3 separate regions of the Homo sapiens genome follow, and all the other regions are linked to region 2. The links are contacts of gene promoters, found by promoter capture Hi-C in blood cells and fetal thymus (Javierre and others, 2016). All regions are on one chromosome and are shown on one strand. The core of a region is centred on a gene start or on the middle of the fragment in contact, and the rest is flanking DNA. Distances in the headings are between cores, read along the strand shown.

The links. Contacts are between HindIII fragments. The CHiCAGO score rates a contact against its expected background, and 5 or more counts as called.
Region 1: a contact is called between a fragment that was not itself captured here and the fragment with the promoter of OR10H5 in region 2, in 1 of 17 cell types (M1 macrophages). The highest score is 5.8, in M1 macrophages.
Region 3: a contact is called between a fragment that was not itself captured here and the fragment with the promoter of OR10H5 in region 2, in 1 of 17 cell types (M2 macrophages). The highest score is 5.1, in M2 macrophages.

The regions. Positions count from the first base shown.
Region 1 is chr19:14,957,047-14,959,746 of GRCh38, forward strand. The region is part of intron 6 of SLC1A6 (solute carrier family 1 member 6); the gene reads right to left. Among named protein-coding and RNA genes, the nearest start is that of OR7C2, 17 kb to the left of the region's middle. The HindIII fragment of the contact is 2,634 bases long and covers 47-2,680 here.
Region 2 is chr19:15,786,398-15,789,097 of GRCh38, forward strand. OR10H5 (olfactory receptor family 10 subfamily H member 5) reads left to right here and starts at 1,264. Exons shown (of 2, transcript NM_001004466.2): 1 at 1,264-1,319. The HindIII fragment of the contact is 16,043 bases long and covers 1-2,700 here.
Region 3 is chr19:14,927,441-14,930,140 of GRCh38, forward strand. It overlaps the pseudogene OR7A15P. Among named protein-coding and RNA genes, the nearest start is that of OR7C2, 13 kb to the right of the region's middle. The HindIII fragment of the contact is 592 bases long and covers 1,098-1,689 here.

The DNA of each region.
Region 1 (2,700 bases), core at 114-2,613, 830 kb before region 2:
TCCTTCCTTAGACATTGCCAAGACATTCCCTGTCTCTGGCCTTCTAAGCTTCCCTTATCTTCTGCCCCCAACTGTTTGTTCCACATTTGAAATGTGTATGCCCCTATTCTCTTCCCTATCAGTGCCTGTTATCACTCATTCACCAGCCTAAGCATTTCCCTCTCAAACCACTTGTCCTATCAAAATCACCGATGTATTCATTCATTCCACAGATATTGACTGAGTACCTACTGAGTACCAGGCACATGGCTCTCGTCCTCAAAGCACTTACATTCTGTTATGGACTAAATGTTTATGTCCCCTCCCCACTCCAACCAAATTCATATCTTGAGATCCTAACCCCCAATGGGATAGTATTGGGAGGTGATTAGGTCATGAGGGTAGAGCCATCATGAATGGAATTAGTGCCCATATAAAAGACACACCAGAGAGCTCCCTCCACCCTTCTGTCATTCGAAGACACAGCAAGAAGACGCCTTCCATGAACCAGAAGACAGCCCTCACCAGACATGGAATCTGTGGGTGCCTTGAACTTAGACTTCCCACCCTCCAGAGCTGTGCGAAATACATTTTTGTTCTTTAAGCCACAATGTCTATGGTATTTTTGTTACAGCAGCTGACATGAACTAAGACACATTCTAATGGGGAAAGCAGGAGGTACACATAGAAATGCACTAATTGCAAACTTCAAGTGGTGATAACAGCAAAGGAGAGTCACTGGATGGGACTGCTTCTGAGCAGATGGTCAGAGAGGGCTTTTCTGAAGAGGTGACATTTAAGCTGAGACTTGCATGATGAGAAGGTACCCTGTGTATCTGGAAGAAATCATTGCAGGCACAATGCAGACTCTGAGATGGGCATGCACTAGGAGTGCTGGAGGACCAGAGAGAAGACCAATGTGGCTGGAGTATTGAGTAAAAAGGAGAATAGAGAAGATGAAAGAAGCAAGTTCATCAGGGGCTCACCTGTTTCCCCCCATAATCCAGCCCACGGGTCAATCGAGTGAGTTTCTGCCATTGGCACCATCATCTCATTTCGAGGCTTCAATGGCTACTCCTCTTTCTTTAGAAATTGAAGTTTATGGCTGGGCATGGTGGCTCATGCCTGTAATCCCAGCACTTTGGGAGGCCGAGGAGGGCAGATCACTTGAGGTCAGGAGTTCGAGACCAGCCTGGCCAACATGGTGAAATCCCATCTCTATTAAAAATAAAAAAATTAGTCAGGTGTGGTAGTGCACACCTGTAGTCCCAGCTACTCGGGAGGCTGAGGCAGAAGAATCACTTGAACCCAGGAGGCAGAGGTTGCAGTGAGCTGAGATCACATCACTGCACTCCAGCTTGGGCGACAGAGCCAGACTGCATCTCAAAAAAAAAAAAAAATTTGAAATCTACTTTGGCTCACATTCATCGTGGATGTGTTGGAGGAGGTGGGGACCTCTTGGGAAGGTGGTACAATAGCTTGAGTCAAAAATGAGGATGCACGGGGCTTCTCCAGTCACATCTGTGTTCTCCAAACTGGGCTCAGAGTTAGCCCTGGGGAGTAGTTGCTGAGTCTTCTCCAAGTCAACATGACTAGATCCACCTCTATGCTTACTCTGAGTAATCCCTCTCTCAACTTCCTCACCTCCATCCTTCCACCTCATCCCCTGCAAAATTCCTCAGCCCAAGATTAATTGTGCATGATTTCTTACCCCCTACACTCAGCCACCTGGCACATCTGGACATTTCACCCAATCATGCCAATGACACTGCTATAAATTCATTGTTCCCAATTCAGCTGAGCCTTCATTATTCCTTGTTAACTCTCTGCTTATCCTTAATAAGCTCCCCACTCCCATTCCTTTCAGATGCTTTTCCAGGCCCTCAACTTGGCCTCAAGTTCCTTATATGAAGAAAGTAAAAGTTCGTCTTCAAAGTTTCCCTTCTTGTTAAAGAATAAATCTTAAGTGTTAAAAATAGTTTCTTTTAAAGACTAACTTCCTTCAAGCCTCCTTACTTTATGCTAATAACTCTTTGTTAAGCCCTATCCTATGTAGGTGTTAGACACGCTCACAGGCACATAGTACATTCTACGTCCTTGTACTTTAACCAAGATATCTGTGCTGGATGTGCTCACAGGCATGTCCCAGCTTGCAGCCTATACCCCTTCCTTATTTGGGAATGTTATTACTTTTCTAAGTCCTTTTGTAAGCAACTTCCTCTTTTCCTCTGTTTTCCATTGCTTTTACCTATTTAGAAAAGTTTTAAATTATTAGCCAGTCGGGATTTAGTTTAGATTGTAAAGTCTGGCTCCAGCCAATGGAGACAGACACAGTAGCAGGGACAAACTGCATAAGGGATAAAAATTGCTTCTTCCCTCCTTTGTTCAGGTGTGCTCTTGCCATTGTTCCATCTGTGATGAACACCCTTTCTGCAGAAGTAAAAATTGCCTTGCTGAGATAATTAAATTTATGTTTGAGTGCTATTTCTTTATGGCACTGGGGAACAAGCATTCTGTTTCTAAATAAACATTTTACATATGACACTATACAACTTTCCAATTGTTTGGGATGATGTACAAAGTCTTCTCCCATTTGGGATCTGACAGCCTTGTTAATATCTTCCACCACCACTCCCAACTTACCCCATGCTCTCACCTTCCTGAATGCCCCACCATTCTCCAAACAACTTAGGTACCTTCAAGCTTTGCATGTTCTCTTCT
Region 2 (2,700 bases), core at 14-2,513:
ACAGCAAAAGAAACTACCATCAGAGTGAACAGTCAACCTACAGAATGGGAGAAAATTTTTGCAATCTACTCATCTGACAAAGGGCTAATATCCAGAATCTACATCTGACTAATTTTTGTATTTTGAGTAGAGATGGGGTTTCGCCATGTTGGCCAGGCTGGTCTTGAGCTCCTGAACTCAAGTGATCCACCTGCCTCAGCCTCCCAGAGTGCTGGGATTACAGGCATGAGCCACCGCGCCCGGCCCCCAACTCACTAATTCTCTCTTCAATTGTGTCTGACATGCATTAAACTTCTCCTGGGATATTAATATTGTAGCTTTGGTTCTAAAAATTATATATCTTTTTTTTCAAATCAACCCTGCCGCTCTTTACAATGCTTTATCCTTGAAGATATTTCCAAAATTACATTTCGTTATTTAAACTTCGTAAGCAATATTGTTTCATAGTCCTTGCCTGATAATTCCAGTATCTGAAATCTTTGTTGGACTGTTTCTGGAGTTATGGGGAACTGGGAGATTCTGAAGGTGTTGATACCTGGGTCATGATGCACCCTGTCAAGTTTATGGGGAGGAAGAGGCAGAGCTGGAGCTCTTGGCCCCTCCACTCCATCTGGGCTTGCTGCAGGAACCTACCGTGTGACCTTGGCCTTGTTCCCTGCCCTCTGTGGGCTTTGTGTTCCCAGAGGCAACCATAGAGGATGCTTCTTCTGAGAATCACACCTCTGTGTCTCTCCAGATCCCTTTCCTGATATCTGTTGAGAAGAGACACCATCCTGGGAAACATCACCCAGAATCCAGTCCCATTTTTCCAAAATGCTTGGAATTGGGGCAGCCCAGCCCAGCCTCGCTAGCCGCAGGGGGTGGTGGTGGTGGTGGTGTCAGGGTTTGATGGTGGTGTCAGGGTTTGATGGTGAGATCTTTAGGGAGGAGGTGATGTAAAAACTGAAACCTCAAATGAGAACAGGACTGAGATAAGTGAGAGTGAGTAGTGGTGGAAGGGGTCCCAGGCAGGAGGAAGGGAGGAAAGATGGAAGAAGGGAAGAAGAGAGGAAGGAAGGAAGAGAAGGAAGAAAAGAGGGAGGGAAGCAGCAAAGGAAGGAGGGAGGCAGGAATGGAGAGGGCAATCCCAAGGTCCCCCGCCTCCCTCCTTGGACTTCGATTACCCTGCATCCTGCATCCCAGGCAGGCTCCTCAAGACACCTCTGGGAACGTGCCACTGGGGAAGACGCCTGCAGAGATGAAGCTCTCACCCTGGGTGCACTGTGCCCAGGGCCATTACAGGCCTGGCTGCAAGGCGTCCCTAAAGGTCTCTGATGAAGGTAAGTGGAGTCGTCTATTTCCAAACCTGCTTTCCAGGATGAAGTGGCAAGAGTACTGGGAGGTGGAAGGGAGAAGGCAAGAGAAGCAGGGAAAATTGGAACAGAGGGAGGCACAGGTTTGGGAAAAGAAACGAGAGGGAGCATGGGATGATATGGAGTAGGGGTTCTATAGCCTCAGCCACCTGACTCCAGGCTGGATCAGCCTGTCCTCACTCCAAGTCCCCCATAGAGTCCACCTACTGCCTAGAGCAGCCCCCTTTCCACAGCAGTCGTGGCCACCAGGGTCCATGCTGGGGTGGGGAGTGGTCTCTATACTAAGTTGTGGAGGAGGGTGGTTCTGAGCCAAGCGGGTGACATTGAGTGTGTCACCATGCATGTGGGTGTACTTAGGCATCACCCATGTGTACTCCTGCCTTCACTGTGTGTGTGTGTGTGCAGTTGTGTGCGCTTGTATGAGATTATTGTAGCTGCCATTTCAAAGTGCCGCAAACCTTGTGGCTTAAAACAAGATAAATGCATTCTTGCAGGGTTCTGGAGGCTAGACGTCTTAAAGCAAGACGTCTACAAAGCTACTCTCCCTCTGAAGATTCTAAGGGAGAAGATGCCTTGCCTCTTCCAGCTTCTGGGTGCTCTAGGCATTGATTGATTTGTAGCTGCATCGCTCCAATCTCTGCCTCTCTCTTCACGCGACCTTTTCCTCTGTGTGTCCTCCCCTCGTCTTTGAGGGGCACCAGTTGTTGGATTTAGTAAACAACCTAATTCAGAATAATCTCATTTTTATTTTTATTATTATTATTTTTTGGACAGGGTCTCGCTCTGTCACCCAGGCTGGAGTGCAGTGGCACGATCACAGCTCACTGCAGCCTCGACCTCCCAGGCTCAACTGATCCTCCCACTTGGCCTCCTAAGCAGCTGTTAGCGCAGGCACACAGCACCACGCCCAGCTAATTTTTGTAGAGATGGGGTTTTGCCATGTTGCTCAGGCTGGTCTCGAACTCCTGGATTCAAGCAATCCCCCGCCCCACCCACCTTGGTCTCCCACAGTGCTGGGATTATAGGTGTGAGCCACCACACCCAGCTGATCTCATTTTTGGATCCTTACCTTAATGACATCTGTAAAAGACTCTATTGCCACCTAAGGTCACATTATTTTATTTTAGTTTAGTTTAGTTTGGTTTCAGGGTACATGCTCAGGATGTGCAGGTTTGTCACACAGGCAAATGTGTGCCATGGTGCTTTGCTGCACCTATCAACCTATCACCTAGGTATTAAGCCTGGCATACATTAGCTATTTTTCTGAGGCTCTCCCCACCCCTGCCCTACCCCAACAGGCCCCAGTGTGTGTTGTTCCCCTCCCTGTGTCCAAAGGTCACATTCTGAG
Region 3 (2,700 bases), core at 144-2,643, 860 kb before region 2:
GGACAGCTTCCTCCTGACTGTGATGGCCTATGACCGGTTTGTGGCCATCTGTCACCCCCTGTACTACACGGTCATCATGAACCCTCAACTCTGTGGATTGCTGGTTCTGGTATCCTGGATCACAAGTGTCTTGCATTCCTTATTACATAGCTTAATGGTGCTGCAGTTGTCCTTATGCAGAGAGTTGGAAATCCCCCACTTTTTCTGTGAACTTAATCAGGTCATCCACCTTGCCTGTTCTGACACCTTTCTTAATGACATGGTGATGTATCTGGCAGCTGTGCTGCTGGGTGGGGGGATGTCTCGCTGGGATCCTTTACTCTTACTCTAAGATAGTTTCCTCCATATGTGCAATCTCATCAGCTCAAGGGAAGTATAAGGCATTTTCCACCTGTCCGTCTCACCTCTCAGTTGTCTCCTTGTTTTACTGTACAAGCCTAGGAGTGTACCTTAGCTCGGCTGCATCCCACAACTCACACTCAGGTGCAATAGCCTCAGTGAGGTACACTGTGGTCACCCCCATGCTGAACCCCTTCATCTACAGCCTGAGGAATAAGGACATAAAGAGGGCTCTGAAGAATTCTTTGGGAGGGAAACTAGAAAAGGGCCAGTTGTCCTAGGGCTGAAGCTATATCCATGATTGCAAGGCTCAAAGCCTCAGAGCCAGATATTGCTGTTGTTTAATCAGATCATGGAAGTGGAAACTGCTCTTTTTTTTTTTTTTTTTTTTTTTTGAGACAGAGTTTTGCTCTGCTGCCCAGGCCAGAGTGCAGTGGCGCCATCTCCGCTCACTGCAAGCTCCACCTCCTGGGTTCATGCTATTCTGCTGCCTCAGCCTCCCGAGTAGCTGGGACTACAGGCACCCACCACCGCACCCGGCTAATTTCTTGTATTTTCAGTAGAGACGGGGTTTCACTATGTTAGCCAGGATGGTCTTGATCTCCTGACCTCGTGATCCAACCGCCTCTGCCTCCCAAAGTGCTGGGATTACAGGCGTGAGCCACTGCGCCGGGCTGGAAATTGCTCTATTTATTTCCTGAAGTTTCCATTTCTTTTATCTCAACTGCTTCATCAAATTTAAGCAACTCCTATTATTAAGCTTTCCTCTCTCTCTAATATTCAACAGATTTTCCCCTTGTTTTCCTCCTTTCTCAAAGTTATTCCCAACCTTGGGTCAGAAACAATTTGGAGATTCCCATTTGCCTCATAGGGTGATGAGTTGTACTATTCCTATGGAATAAACTACGCTTGGCACTGAGGCCATTTATGTAATTTTATTGGAGAAGAATTTCTGAGGCTATGGTTTTTCACTTTTTGTGTTTGTCATTCATTTCTGTATCACTACCTTAATTGATCTTCCTGATAATGTAGACTTAAACATACTAGGGTATTTTATAGCTGGTTATGGGATTTTTCACTCCCATTAGGATCCTGTTCTCTTCTTGAACTCAGTATTCATGAATTCTACTATATTTACTGGCACTGAGTACTTAGTCAAAAGTTGCTCATCAAATAAATGCTCCAAGCATAGTCTACACAGAAAGACAAACTGGCAAAAATCAATTGGCTTTACATGGACTTAGAGTTAGAGATGACGTTAAATATGATAGAGTAACATTTTCAATTATGTACTAAATTTCTATGGAAGGTTTGTTTTCAATGATGTACATCTACTCATTGAAGTGTGGAAGCTTGTTATTCATGTGTAATGAGGTTTGTTGATCTGAGTGAAAGATTTGGTGTCATGGTCTATATTATTTTATTGTATCATCTTGCTGTTTCTATTTGAAAATTCTAGTGTTACCTACAAATATGACTACTTACATTGTCCAAAAAATATTTCCCCCTTTAACAAATGTAATCATAACACAAAATACAGATGATTGAACAATATGTGTATTTACTTGATCATCAATTCCTTTACATCTTTTATAATCTAAATTCTTTTCAGTCCTCATGATCAAAGATTATTCTGTTGATATCTGGATATTTATATCTTTCCTGAAAGTTGGAAAGTTTTCAGTTATTTTTTTGATAAGCTTTCTGTCTCTTTGTTCATTCCTTCTCTTTCTTGATTCCTGTTAATTCAAATATTTACCCTCCTTATGCTGCCCCATAAAATCCCATAAGTTTTCTTCACTCCTTTTTATTCTGTTTTTCTCCTCTGAGTGTATGTTTTCTAATAATCTGTCTTCAAGTTCATAGATTATTTCTTCTGCTTTATTTCTTCTGCTTTATCAATCCTGCTGTTGACACTCTAGATTGCATTTTTCATTTCATTCATTGTATTTTTCATCTTGAGAATTTCTAGAGTTTTTTTATAATTTCAATCTCTCTGTTAAATTTCAAATTTTGTTCATTTATTGTCTTTCTGATTTTGGTGAATTGTTTCTCTGTATTTTCTTAAAGTTTGCTGCACTTCCTTAAAACAATTATTTTTGAATTCTTTGTCAGAAAGTTCATATATCTCCATTTCTTTCTTTTTATTTAAAATATATAAATAAATATATAATTGTTTTTTAAAAAAATTAAAAATCACAATACAACAATAAAAATAATACAAATTTTTAAATAAAGTATAACAACTATTTACAGAGCATTTACACTGTGTTCAGTATTATAAGTACTCTAGAAATGATTTAAAGTATACAGGAGAATGTGCATAGCTAATATGCAAATACTATGCCATTTTATATAAGG